Linked DNA regions of Homo sapiens: region 2 is linked to region 1. Evidence: promoter capture Hi-C in 16 types of primary human blood cells and fetal thymus (Javierre and others, 2016). All regions are on one chromosome and are shown on one strand. The core of a region is centred on a gene start or on the middle of the fragment in contact, and the rest is flanking DNA. Distances in the headings are between cores, read along the strand shown.

Region 1 (7,111 bases), core at 1,228-3,727:
AGCAAGCAAGCAAGCAAGAGAAAAGAAAAAGAAGAAAAGAAAAGAAAAGAAAAGAAGCCATTGAGATTGTACCAGCCAAACATGGGCCCCCGAACCTGGCCGGGAAGAGGTGTGCACATGTGCACAGCGGGCCCTGTGGCACACTCAGCTCATGGACAGAGCAGCCACTTGTACCACTTCATTCCCTTCAACACAGAGCTTCCAGACTCTGTTTTCTTCTCAGGTCCTTACAACCAGGAACATGGGGGAAAGTCACCATTTTCTACCCACTGCTTGCCTCCATCTTCCCAGTGAGTCTCAAATCCCTTTTCCTTGAATTCTCTGCCTTCTGAACAAATTTGCCTTCCCTCCTCTGACTCTAGGGCCTCACTAGAAATTGCCACTCCAAGTCAGACCCTCTCCAGAACTTAGGTCCTTGATGTGTAACTTACTGTGTCACCAGGCAAGTCACTCTGTGTTTCTGTAGCTCAGTTTTCTCATCTGTAAAATGGGAACAATATCCCTACTTCATTTTATTTTTTATTTTTTAAATTTTAATTTAATTTAAATTTTATTTTTATTTATTTATTTGTTTTCAGACGGAGTCTCGCTCTATTGCCCAGGCTGGAGTGCAGTGATGCCATCTCGGCTGACTGCAACCTCTGCCTCCCAGGTTCAAGTGATTCTCCTGCCTCGGCCTCCCAAGTAGCTGGGACTACAGGCATGCGCCACCATGCCTGGCTAATTTTTGTATTTTTAATAGAGACAAGGTTTCACCATGTTGGCCAGGTTGGTCCTGAACTCCTGACCTCAAGTGATCTACCCACCTCGGCCTCCCAAATTGCTGGGATTACAGGCGTGAGCCACCGTGCCTGGCCCAATATCCCTACTTCATAGGGTTGTTGTAAGAATAAAAAGAGAGGCCAGGCATGGTGGCTCACGCCTAATCCCAGCACTTTGGGAGGCCTAGGTGGGTGGATCACGAGGTCAAGAGATGGAGACCATCCTGGCCAACATGGTGAAACCCTGTCTCTACTAAAAATACAAAAATTAGCTGGGTGCAGTGGTGCGTGCCTGTAATCCCACCTACTTGGGAGGCTGAGGCAGGAGAATCGCTTGAACCCGGGAGGCGGAGGTTGCAGTGAGCTGAGATCGCGCCACTGCACTCCAGCCTGGCAACAGAGCGAGACTCTGTCTCAAAAAAAAAAAAAAAAAAGAATGAAAAGAGATATTATGTGAAAGGGTGACAGTGATTGGCACATTGTGTGAAGTAAGTGTTAAATATTGTATGCATGTGCACACAAATAGACAAATGCATCTCTGACCCACCCCTTAACATGTTGCAGTCCTATCTTGCTCAGCCACCCACCTCTGTACGCAGACAGCACTGAGATCTTCTAATTAATACACATTTCAGTCCAAAATGATGTCATTTTCTCTGAAAAACAAATAAACCTCTCTGCAAAATAGTTGTTCCTACTGCTTCTTGGTTTGGGTTTTCTAACTCCCCAGGGTCATAAAACTTATCTCCATGGGTGTTGTGAAGCTTTCCAAGTGAATTAATTGGAGTTTGTTTATTAAAAAATAACAACAGCATTTTCAGATGAGAATGGAAGAGGCTGACGCAGAGTGAAAAACAGAGTTAGATAACCCAGTTCCCCAAAGACGGGGGATCTTGGAGAGAGCTGTGATCCTTCTTTCCTTCCTTTCTCCCCCTCTCTCCGTCTCTCTTTCTGCCCCTCTTCCCCCCACAGTTCTTTTCCTTTTAGTGACAGCAGCAACTACTCAGAGACTCCTAATCCCTTTTGCAGAGGACGGAAATGTTTAGAAAACTTCACTCTGGGTTGGCAGTTCCCCAAAGGGAAGCTCTCTTTCTGGAATATTCCTCTGTGCCCAGAATGAGAGACCTTGTCTTGGGTTGGGTTTCTTTTGGGGTCACGAGTCCCTGCAGCTCCCCTTCCAGTGACTTCAGCTGCCAGCATGGAGTGGAGACCCCAGACTTGGAGGCTGCACCAAGGTCTCAGCATCTTGGAGTCTGTCCAGATCTGGGATGAGGGCCTCATTATTCCTATGCTGGATGTACTCATCTTTATGGGGTATTCTCCACTCCTCCCTCCAGGCTATTCCATTCCCTGGGATTCTGAGGGTTGTTGGATATAGAAGATGGGACCCTTTTTAGGCTTCCTTACAGCCTGGGGCTCTCTCCAAGTTTCCAAGATGAGCTTGCTCACCAGACCCAGTTTTCTGAGACTCAGCATGCCCAGGTCCTCCCAGCAGCTCCAGAGCAGGAATGGGCAGCTCACTCCTTCTTCTGAGCAGAACTGGGGGGTCCTGAGAGTTCCTAAGTCCAGGAGGGAGGGAAGGGTCTCTGAGCACTCACCGGAGCTGCAGCAGAGAGCCAGTGTGACCAGGGTGAGGGTGACAGCGAGTTTCATGGTGGAGGAGGGGGATGCTCTGGCCCGTCTCTGGTTCCGTCTCTGAGTCTGGTGGGCTAGTATGAGACATGCCCAGCAAGGTGCCTTTTATATGCTCTAGGCAGCAGCACCCAGATGGGGAAGGGCAGGGCAAGGGCTCTACATAAGATACTGCACTATTTACTTGGCATTGGCTTGGTGGGATAGGTAAATATTCCCTTTTCTCAACCCAGTTTCTGTCCCCACTGAAACTGAGCTCACACAATGGGCCACTTGGGGGTGGAGGGCCGAGCCCTGCCTGGAGGCAGTGAAGGGAACCCAAGTCAGAGGATGTGGAAACCCAGCTGCCTGTGTCACTCACTGAACCTGGGCACTGGGGCAGTCCAGATCAAGAGAAGCAATTGTGGAGCCCACCTGGAGAAACTGAGGCCCAAGTTCCCTCACAAGTGGCAGGGACAGGACTAGGACTAGGACTCAGGACCCTGACACTCCACTGGGCTCTTTCATAGGCTCCCCTCTGAGGAGGGCGACTGAACCTTAAGCCAGGAAAGACACATGGTTTGGAGCATTGCTGTGGTCAGACTTCGGGGGCCCCTGGATTGAAGCATGTTGAATAAAAGGGACCCTTCCAGAATTCCCATCAGAAACCTGAGCCCTGCCCCAGGCTGGGTCTGTTCCCACCCAGAAGTGCTCTCAAGTCCTGTGCTCCTGATGGCCCAATTGGTGGGACCTTCAGTCCTTATCTCACTTGACCTCCCAATGGCCTTGACACCTGTGACTGCTTCCTTCTCGAACCATTCTCTCTCTTGCGCTCCCACGCCTCAGTTCTTTCCTGTTTTCCTTCTTCTGGCCATTCCTTCTTGTTCTCTTTAGATGTTTATTCTTTACTGTTCTTAAGTGTTGATGGTTCCCAGGCTTTGGCCTTCTCCCCTTTCTTGCCTCCAGTTGCCATTTCCTGGTTCTTCTCCAAAGCCCGGGCCTCATAGCACCTAACCTGGCCTGGTCAAAATCCCCTGACTCGACCTCCCTGCCTCCCTGCTAGCTCTCCTCAGCCATCCTCTGAAAGGCCATCAGAATGATCTTCCTAAAACCCACTGGTCGTGTCCTTCTTCTTGAAACCCTTAAACTCTTCCTTTTGCCTAAAGAATAAAATTCAAGTGCAATTTACAAGGCCCTTGCCCACTGACCTTTGCCTACCATTTGAACTTCATTTCTCCTCTCCCCCACACAACGACTTAGCCCTCTCTTACTATTTGTGGATTCGAGAATGTTCCATGTTTTTTCATGCCTTTCTACCTATGCACAAGCTAAGCCTCATGCCTGAATACACATTTCCTGCCTTGTCCACTTCGCCAAATTCTATTCGTACTTCAAGACTCAATCAAATATTGATCCATTCATTCATCCAATAAATGCTGACCACCTATGATGTGCCAGATGTGGTGCTAGGAGTCGGGAACTGGGGTAGATAGACATGGAGAGGCATTGCGTGGCACTTCAAGAACTCCTCAAAAATAAATAAATAAATAAAAATAAATAAACAAATAAAAGGCCAGACAGGGTGGCTCATGCCTGTAATCCCAGGACTTTGGGAGGCTGAGGCAGGTGGATCACCTAAGGTCAGGAGTTTGAGACCAGCCTGGCTGACATGATGAAACCCCGTCTCTACTAAAAATACAAAAATTAGCTGGATGTGGTGGTGGGCACCTGTAATCCCAGCTACTTGGGAGGCTGAGGCAGGAGAATTGCTTGAATCTGGGAGTCATAGATTGCGGTGAGCTGAGATCACGCCATTGCACTCCAGCCTGGGCAACAAGAGCAAAACTCCGTCTCAGAAAAAAAAAAAAAAAAGAAGGACCCCATTGTGCCTGAGGGCTTCGAAAGGGTTGCTGTGCCTGCAAAGGGGGCATTCAGGGGCCAGAGCACACAAGGCCTCGTTCTAAGGCCTTTACACTCAGAGTGGGAAGCTCTTGAAGGTTTTAATCAGGGAGTGACATGGTCTGATATCCCTTTCCTGATGAACTGACCCTGACTTGGGCAGCTGGGGGAATGGGGTGTTATTTCCTGACACAGAGAAGACTTGGGAAAAATAGGGTTGGGGGTGAAAATAGGGAGTGAAGCCTTCCCCGACAGGTGGTTCTGATGGGTGGTGACTCTCCCCATGGGCCTCTCTTCCCCCTCTGCTTACAGGGCCCATTATACAATATTTTAACTTTGCAATTCTTATTTTCTTGTATGACTCCTTTACTTGACTGACCTCCTTTAGGGCTGAGGCCGCTGTAAGCCAAGGTACGCAACGCTTGCTAAACAGGAATCCCTGGAATGAATCCATGCATGAGGCCTTTGTGCCATGTGACAGTTGAAGGCTGTGGTGACCCCGGAACCGTCCCACTCCGAGACGCCTTAACACCGGTAAGAGCACACGTTCTAAACTAGCAACCAACAAAGACTTGTCAAGTACGTTATGGTGTGTCCTTACAATGAAACGCTGTGTGGCTGAAAACAGAGAAAGAAGATCTTCTGAGCTGATGGTGAAATGATCTCCAAGGCAGACTGCAAAGGGGGAAAAACAAGGCATGAATAGAGCAAAAAAGAACAAAGAGAAGGCTGGGCGCGGTGGCTCACGCCTGTAATCCCAGCACTTTGGGAGGCTGAGGCGGGTGGATCACAAGGTCAGATTGAGACCATCCTGGCCAACATAGTGAAACCCCGTCTCTACTAAAAAAATACAAAAAGCTGGGTATGGTGGCGCTTGCCTGTAATCCCAGCTACTCGGGAGGCTGAGGCACGAGAATCACTTGAGCCCAGGAGGCAGAGGTTGCAGTGAGCCGAGATCATGCCACTGCACCTCCAGCCTGGTGACAGAGCATGACTCCGTCTCAAAAAAAAGCAAAAAGAATCCACATATGCATTTGCTTGTATTTGCATAAAGCATCTCAGAAGTGCCTTCTTTCTTTTAAGTTTCCTTCTGTGTCCCATCATCTGGGCTCTTGAGGTTAGCCCATCTTGAGGATTTCAGGTGTCTGCATCCCTCCCCTCTTAGGGACTGTTGAAAGGTGTAGCCTGCCTGTAACCCCAGCACTTTGGGAGGCTGAGGAGGGCAGATCAACTGAGGTCGTCGAGAGTTTGAGACCAGCCTGGCCAACATGGTGAAACCCCCTCTCTACTAAAAATACAAAAATTAGCCGGGCGTGGTGGCAGGTGCTTGTAATCCCAGCTACTTGGGAGGCTGAGGCAGGAGAATCACTTGAGCCCAGGAGGTGGAGGTTGCAGTGAGCCGAGATCACACCATTGCACTCCAGCCTGGACAACAAGAGCGAAACTCCATCTCAAAAATAAATAAATAAATAAACAAACAAACAAACAAAAGAAAGCTGTGGCCAATGGAGCTGAAATGGGCAAGGAAGATGAGCTGGACCACTGGGGGCACCTAAAGCCCATCCAGTGCCGCCACTAGTGGATCCCTCTGTGGGCAGTGGCTGGTCTGGCCGGGGCAGCTGTGATGGCTGCAGGGGTCTTAGGCAGGAGTCACATCACCCATAGCCTCAGACTCTGCTCTCTACTTTCCACCTTCATGGTGCGAGGTCCTGGGGACAGGATAGCTGGCTCCTGGGTCTTTGAGGAACTTAACAGCTAGGAGGAGAGACAGAGATGGGTGCAACTGATGGGAATGCTCTGTGGGGAGATGGAGGAAGTCAGAGAAGGAAATGGTGCTCCGGGAGTTGAAAGGGGGCTGCCCCCAGGCTGGGCGTGGTGGCTCATGCCTGTAATCCCAGCACTTTGGGAGGCCAAGGCAGGCGGATCACCTGAGGTTGGGAGTTCGAGACCAGCCTGAACAACATGGAGAAACCCTGTCTGTACTAAAAATACAAAATTGGCTGGGCTTGTGGTGGTGCTTGCCTGTAATCCCAGCTACTTGGGAGGCTGAGGCAGAAGAATCGCTTGAACCTGGGAGGCAGAGGTTGCGGTGAGCCGAGATCGCGTCACTGCACTCCAGCCTGGGCAACAAGAGCGAAACTCCGTCTCAAAAAAAAAGGAAAAAAAAAAAAAAAAAAAGAAAGGGGGCTGCCCCAAGAAAGGTAGCTGGGCAGAGGGGAGAGGGCACGTGGAGGGCTGGCATTTGAGCTGGCCTCTGGTGGATGGGTGATGCTGGTGGTTGGGGTGAAGCGGGGGATGTGCCAGGAGGAGGAAGCCACATGAAGGGGGCCCAGGCTCAGGAGGGGACCTGGCCATGGTCCGACATGCATGGGACAGATAAGCACACAGGTACAGTGGGAGTCTGGGGGCACCGGGGGCACTGGCCTTTCAGGTGCGAGGTTGGAGGTTTGCTCTGATTCTGGAAGGTACCTCGACTGCCACCACCAAGTGTCCCAGATAGGCTCTGCCATCTGGCCCTTGGGAGATCCTGCTTGGTGGCGGTGGGTGTTTCTCTCCCCTGCCTCAGGACCCTGCAAAGCCCCTGCTCTTCTGACCCTCTGCTTGAGATAGTGAGGCAAAAAGTGTGTTAGTCAAGGCTTGGAACTCAGAGCTTTTTTTTTTTTTTTTCTGGAAACGGAGTTTCGCTTTTGTTGCGTAGGCTGGAGTGCAATGGCACGATCTCAGCGGCTCACTGCAACCTCCACCTCCCGAGTTCAGACGATTCTCCTGCCTCAGCCTCCCAAATAGCTGGTATTATAGGCGTGCGTCACCACGCCCTGTTAATTTTCGTATTATTAATA
Region 2 (7,111 bases), core at 2,281-4,780, 260 kb before region 1:
AACATAGCGGAAACCTACCTCTACTATAATAAAAATACAAAAGTTAGCCAGGTGTGGTACATGCTACTTGGGAGGCTGAGGTGAAAGGATGGCTTGAGCCTGGGAGAAGGAGGTTGCAGTGAGCCAAGATTGTGCCACTGCTCTCCAGCCTGGGCAATAAAGCCAGACCTTGTCTCAGAAAAAAACCCATCTTTCCTTTTTTTTTTTTTTTTTTTTTTTTGAGACGGCCTCTTACTCTGTCACCAGGCTGGAGTGCAATGGCACAATCTTGGCTCACTGCAACCTCCGCCTCCCAGGTTCAAGTGATTCTCCTGCCTCAGCCTCTCAAGTATCTGGGATTACAGGTGTGTGCCACCACGCCTGGCTAATTTTTTGTATTTTTAGTAGAGAAGGGGTTTCACCGTGTTAGCCAGGATGGTCTCGAACTCCTGACCTCATGATCTGCCCGCCTCAGCCTCCCAAAGTGCTAGGATTACAGGCGTGAGCCACCGTGCCTGGCCAAAAAAAAAACATCTTTCTGAGTCTGTTTTTTGTTTTTTTATTTTTTTTTCTTGAGACAGAGTTTCACTCTTGTTGCCCAGGCTGGAGTGTAATGGCACGATCTCGGGTCACTGTAATCTCCGCCTCCTCGGTTCAAGCAATTCTCCTGCCTCAGCCTCCTGAGTAGCTGAGATTACAGGAGCCTGCAACTATGCCCGGCTAATTTTTATGTTTTTTTAAGCAGAGATAGGGTTTCACCATGTTGGCCAGGCTGGACTCGAACTCCTGACCTCAGGTAATCCACCCGCCTTGGCCTCCCAAAGTGCTAGGATTATAGGTGTGAGCCACCATGCCTGGCCTTGAGTCTGTTTTTTTGTGACTAAAAATAGCTTCTACATCATAGGGATTGTTGTGATGATTAAATATGGATTAATCATACAAAATTCTCTAGCAGGCCGGGCACGGTGGCTCACGCCTGTAATCCCAGCACTTTGGGAGGCCGAGGCAGGTGGATCACCTGAGGTAACAAGTTCGAGATTAGCTTGGCCAACATGATGAAACCCCTTCTCTACTAAAAAATACAAAAATTAGCCCGATGTGGTGGCGGGTGCTTGTAATCCCAGCTACTCGGGAGGCTGAGGCATGAGAACAGCTTGAGCTTGGGAGGCAAAGGTTGCAGTGAGCCAAGATCCCACCACTGCACTCTAGCCTGGCAACAAAGTGAGACCCTGTCTCTCTCACACACACACACACACACACACACACACACACACACACACACACAAGTCTCTAGTGCATATATTATCAATATCAGTAACTGTTATTGTCATTATTACTCTACCTTCTAATAAACATTTAAAGTGAGCTTCACTTTCAGGAATCTAACAGCCCGGGTAGTGGTGGAGCACAAAGTAATCAACAGTGACTCACAGCAGTGGGGATAAATGCTTAATGGGTTAAATACTGTAGCTGGAAGGCAGACAGCAGTGGTCAAAGCAGGCTTTTCTTAGAAGGCAAATCCTGAATCCTGAAAAACTCCTGGGAGTTAGTTTACTAAGTGAAGAGACAGGACATCCTAGGCGGAGACTGGTTGGTGCACAGGCCAAGAGGAGGGTGAAGTCTGGTTTGCAATATGCACAGCTTACCCTCAAGTGGTGGGTGATGAAACTGCACAATAACTACCAGCATTTACATACTCTGCCTTGCCAGGCACCAAAGTAGGTGCTATTGTGATCTCCACTTGAGAGGGGGTTCTAACCCCCCTCCCCGCAAAAAAAGCCAAGGTGGGCGCAGAAGGAAGTCAGACCACTAGCATTTAAGTTGTCCCAGATGGCCGAGTATGTAGCTCACGCCTTTAATCTTAGCACTTTGGGAGGGCGAGGCAGGTGGATCACTTGAGCTCAGGGGTTGGAGACCAGCCTGGCCAATATGGCGAAACCCCGTCTCTACAAAAAATAGAAAAATTAGGCCGGGCGCGGTGGCTCACACCTGTAATCCCAGCACTCTGGGAGGCCAAGGTGGGTGGATCATGAGGTCAGGAGTTCAAGACCAGCCTGGTGAAGATGGTGAAACCCCGTCACTACTAAAACTACAAAAATTAGCCAGGCGCGGTGGCAGCCACCTATAATCCCAGCTACTCGGGCAGGAGAATCGCTTAAACCCGGGGCAGGCAGAGGTTGCAGTGAGCTGAGATTGTGCCACTGCACTCCAGCCTGGGTTACAGAGTGAGATTTTGTCTAAAAAAAAAAAAAAAAAAAAAAAAAAAAGGAGAGAGAGAGAGAAAAGAAAAAGAAAAATTAGCCGGGTGTGGTGGCATGTGCCTGTAGTCCCAGCTACTTGGGAGGCTGAAGTGGGAGGATCGCTTGAGCCCAGGAGGCTGAGGTTGCAGTATGTCAAGATTGCACCACTGCACTCCAGCCTGGGCGACAGAGCCAGATCCTGTCTCAAAAACAAAAATAGCTGGGTGTGGTGGCTCACGCCTGTAATCCCAGCACTTTGGGAGGCCGAGGTGGGTGAATCACCTAAGGTCAGGAGTTCGAGAACAGCCTGACCAATATGGAGAAACCTCATCTCTACTAAAAATACAAAAATGGCTAGGCTCGTTGGCTCACGCTTGTAATCCCAGCACTTTGGGAGGCCGAGGCAGGTGGATCATATGAGGTCAGGAGTTCAAGACCAGCCTGACCAACATGATGAAACCCTGTCTCTACTAAATATACAAAAATTAGCCGGGCATGGTGGCGTGGGACTGTAATCCCAGCTACTCAGGAGGCTGTGGCAGGAGAATCGCATGCACCCAGGAGGCGGAGGTTGCAGTGAGCCGAGACCGCGCCACTGCACTCCAGCCTGGGCGACAGAGCGAGACTCCCTCTTAAAAAAAAAAAAAAAAAAAAAAAAAGCTGGGCATGGTGGTGGGCGCCTGTTATCTCAGCTATCCGGGAGGCTGAGGCAGGAGAAATGCTTGACCCGGGAAGCGGAGGCTGCAGTGAGCAGAGATCGCGCCACTGCACTATTGCACTCCAGTCTGGGCAACAAGAGTGAAACTCCATCTCAAAAATAAAAAATAAAAAAAAAAGTAAGTTGTCCTAGATGGTGGAAGTGTCACGGATTTTTAAGCAGGGAGGTGAAGACAGGACTACATGATTGTGTTTTGCAAAAATCCCTTTGGCAGTCAGGCAGAGGATGGCTCAATTCCCTAAGGAGAATGAGTGGGCCAAAGAGCAAGACATTTCTTCTGCTCCTGGCAAACATTGCCAAAGAACTTCCCAAAGCATTGCGCTAAGGGACCATATTCCTTCTAATTTCTAAGGAGGGTGAGGCAGGATGAAGTTCCGGGAACTGGCTTCATTCCGCCCACGGGTTTCAGAGCCGCACCAGCTTTCTTCCCCACAGCAGCCTGGCGCCTTGGCTTGGTGGGTTGCCTCCCTGTTCCCACCCACGGAAAGTCCTGGCAGCAGGGCCAGAAGTTTTATGGTTCTCAGCGGCACCCGTCGACATCCGCCCCCACGTGACCCAAACAGATCCGGCACTTCCGCTTCCCCTCGGCTTTCTTCTCGTCGGTGTTCCCGGCTGCTATAGAGCCGGGTGAGAGAGCGAGCGCCCGTCGGCGGGTGTCGAGGGCGGGTTGCCTCGCGCTGACCCTTCCCGCCCTCCTTCTCGTCACACACCAGGTCCCCGCGGAAGCCGCGGTGTCGGCGCCATGGCGGAGCTGACGGCTCTTGAGAGTCTCATCGAGATGGGCTTCCCCAGGGGACGCGCGTAAGGGAGTTCCCCAACCCCGGCCTGCGGGTGTGGGGGGTCGCGGACCTGTCTCGGCCTTTGCCCCAGCCTGACCGTCACCATGGCTCGTGGGCGCTATTCATGGTGTTTCTGCCCCCAGGGAGAAGGCTCTGGCCCTCACAGGGAACCAGGGCATCGAGGCTGCGATGGACTGGTAAGCGCTCGTCCCGGGTGGCGGAGAATTGGGGGCTGGCGGGAGGGGCAGCCTCAAAGCTAACCTCCCCGCCCACTTTCCCTGCCAGGCTGATGGAGCACGAAGACGACCCCGATGTGGACGAGCCTTTAGAGACTCCCCTTGGACATATCCTGGGACGGGAGCCCACTTCCTCAGAGCAAGGCGGCCTTGAAGGTCCTGACTGAGGGTCCACGGTGTGATTATTCAGGAGGGTCCGAGGAGAATCTGAAGGGATAATAATACCGATTGTTTGTTTGTAGGATCTGGTTCTGCTGCCGGAGAAGGCAAACCCGCTTTGAGTGAAGAGGAAAGACAGGAACAAACTAAGAGGTACAGTAACAACAATCTCACGTGTCTGAGGGTCGTCTTCCATCTCTCCCCAGTACACGTCTGGTCAAAGAACCTTGACCTTTCCACATTTCCTCTTTCTTGGCATTTTCTTTTCCTTTAATCTACTTTGGGATATATGTCGCCTAATTTTGTTTATTGTAAACTTTACACCTTCCCACTCTGTCCATTTCTCTTGAACTGTTTTCCCTCGGCAACACAGGATGTTGGAGCTGGTGGCCCAGAAGCAGCGGGAGCGTGAAGAAAGAGAGGAACGGGAGGCATTGGAACGGGAACGGCAGCGCAGGAGACAAGGGCAAGAGTTGTCAGCAGCACGACAGCGGCTACAGGAAGATGAGATGCGCCGGGCTGCTGAGGAGAGGCGGAGGGAAAAGGCCGAGGAGTTAGCAGCCAGGTCTGGGCAGGGGAAATGATGGATAGCAGATGAGAAAGAAATCAAGATTTGCTTTGTTGATGTCTGACCTAATTTCTTCTTGTCTACATTTCAGACAAAGAGTTAGAGAAAAGATCGAGAGGGACAAAGCAGAGAGAGCCAAGAAGGTAGGTGACTGAGAAGACGCCACGGGTAATGGAGTGGGCAGGTTAGTAAATCTTTTCCAGCTTCAGAGGGAAAGCATGGGCTTATATGATCTGTTTCACCTGAGGATGGGTGAGTACCTGATTGACTGTTTTACTTTGCCCTTTAGTATGGTGGCAGTGTGGGCTCTCAGCCACCCCCAGTGGCACCAGAGCCAGGTCCTGTTCCCTCTTCTCCCAGCCAGGAGCCTCCCACCAAGCGGGAGTATGACCAGTGTCGCATACAGGTACTGATTCTAATTCTTATCTTCCTCTTGGGACCCCTTTGTTCCGTGTTAAGGTGCCCAGCTCAGAGCTTTTTTCAGTTAACGTGCCCTTTGCCAAATCTCTCCCTTCTTTGTAAATGACTTTTGAAATCCTATCTCTACTCTTGGGAAAGGTATCAAATTTCACCTGCCCCAGTTGTATTTAAACCCATACCTCTCTCTTACTCAGCAGTTACCCTTTTACTTGTTCATGTTTTTATTTGGTTTATTATGTAGCTATCTGGTGATGTGGTATTTATCCAGATTCTTTTGTATAATCTTATCCTTGTCTTTCTTAGGTTGTGAGGGAGCTGGGAGTCTCTCATCCGCACTTAGTAAAGCGGAGCCTAAGTGGCTGTTCATTTGGTGCTTTAAATAGTAGTTGTGCTGGTTCAATCTAAGAAGAAGGGGGCCCAGCTTTAGCTCTTTTCCTTACTTGGGCACCTCATTCAGTTTTGATGCCCACAATACTGAGTATCTCCCTTGCCCTTTAGGTCAGGCTGCCAGATGGGACCTCACTGACCCAGACGTTCCGGGCCCGGGAACAGCTGGCAGCTGTGAGGCTCTATGTGGAGCTCCACCGTGGGGAGGAACTAGGTGGGGGCCAGGACCCTGTGCAATTGCTCAGTGGCTTCCCCAGACGGGCCTTCTCAGAAGCTGACATGGAGCGGCCTCTGCAGGAGCTGGGTATGGCTGCAAGACTAGAAACCAGGACTAGAAACTGGGGGAGTAGGGAGGCATGCCTAGGAAAAGGAGGGATGCAAAGAGAAGGGGCTTTGTGAACATGGTGCAAGGCCAGGAATTTTGGGAGCAAAAACCAAGTATCCTTGTGGTTCAAGCCTGTTTTCTTCCATCTTCAGGACTCGTGCCTTCTGCTGTTCTCATTGTGGCCAAGAAATGTCCCAGCTGAGGGCCTTTGTCCCATTGTCCCTCTGTGACCCCTTCATCTTTGATAAAGCACTGACATCTCCTTCCTAATAAATAGACCCTGAGTTCTGTACATGCCTGACTCCTTCCTGAATGGCTGGGAGGGACAAAACTAAGGCAGAGGAAGAGGCTAAAACGGAACAGTAGACCCTCTTCCTCATCTTTAGTTTCCAACAAAGACACTTGTTTGTAATCTCTGGGTCTGATTAACTGCTGGGGAAGTTGCGGAGGAGAGGTGCTAAAAGGGGTGGAGAGTACATTGGATGGCACCTTTTACTCCTATGGTAAGACAGAAAATAAAAGCCCAGCTGCTGCTTTTTTATTTTTATTTTTGAGACGGAGTCTTGCACTGTTGCCTGGGCTAGAGTGCAGTGGCGCAATCTCAGCTCACTGCAACCTCTGCCTCCCAGGTTCAAGCGATTCTCCTGCCTCAGCCTCCCTAGTAGCTGGGATTACAGGCACCCACCACCACGCCCAGCTAATTTTTTCCATTTTTAGTAGAGACGGGGTTTTGCCATGTTGGCTAGGCTGGTCTCAAACTCCTGACCTTGTGATTCGCCTGCCTTGGCCTCCCAAAGTGCTGGGATTACAGGCATGAGCCACCACGCCCGGCCTGCTGCTTTATTTATTTATTTATTTATTTATTTATTGAGAACATGAGAGTGCCTTTTCATTTTAAAAATGTTTGGAAATATGCACAACTTTGATACAGCTTTGGGGTGCTCCAGACACCCATGGCCACTTCATGTAAACCACTGAGAATTTCTTTTTTTTTTTTTTTTTTGAAATGGAGTCTTGCTCTGTCACCCAAGCTGGAGTGCAGTGGCACAGTATTGGCTCACTGCAACCTCCGCCTCCTGAGTTCACGGGATTCTTCTGCCTCAGCCTCCCAAGTATCTGGGATTACAGGCGCGCACCACCATGCCCAGCTAATTTTTTGTATTTTTAGTAGAGTCAGCGTTTCACCATGATGGCCAAGCTGGTTTCAAACTCCTGACCTCAAGTGATCCACCCGCCTCGGCCTCCCAAAGTGCTAGGATTACAGGCGTGAGCCACCACGCCCGGCCACCACTGACAATTT

The links. The method cuts DNA at HindIII sites, captures the fragments that hold promoters and counts their contacts. A CHiCAGO score of 5 or more calls a contact.
Region 2: the fragment with the promoter of UBXN1 here is called in contact with the fragment with the promoter of SCGB1A1 in region 1 in 3 of 17 cell types (total CD8 T cells, total CD4 T cells and monocytes); the score reaches 6.2 in total CD8 T cells.

What each region holds. Positions count from the first base shown.
Region 1 is chr11:62,414,399-62,421,509 of GRCh38, reverse strand. SCGB1A1 (secretoglobin family 1A member 1) reads right to left here and starts at 2,477. Exons shown (of 3, transcript NM_003357.5): 1 at 2,360-2,477. The coding sequence starts at 2,414. It overlaps LOC102723765 (a long non-coding RNA gene), which reads left to right. Exons shown (of 4, transcript XR_007062699.1): 2 at 4,660-4,805. RefSeq lists a silencer at 3,159-3,453. The HindIII fragment of the contact is 29,364 bases long and covers 1,528-7,111 here.
Region 2 is chr11:62,675,492-62,682,602 of GRCh38, reverse strand. UBXN1 (UBX domain protein 1) reads left to right here and starts at 3,530. Exons shown (of 9, transcript NM_001286077.2): 1 at 3,530-3,738; 2 at 3,860-3,913; 3 at 4,002-4,108; 4 at 4,195-4,264; 5 at 4,485-4,676; 6 at 4,771-4,822; 7 at 4,969-5,085; 8 at 5,598-5,790; 9 at 5,964-6,103. The coding sequence starts at 3,680. The coding sequence ends at 6,013. RefSeq lists an enhancer at 3,442-3,771. The HindIII fragment of the contact is 15,579 bases long and covers 1-7,111 here.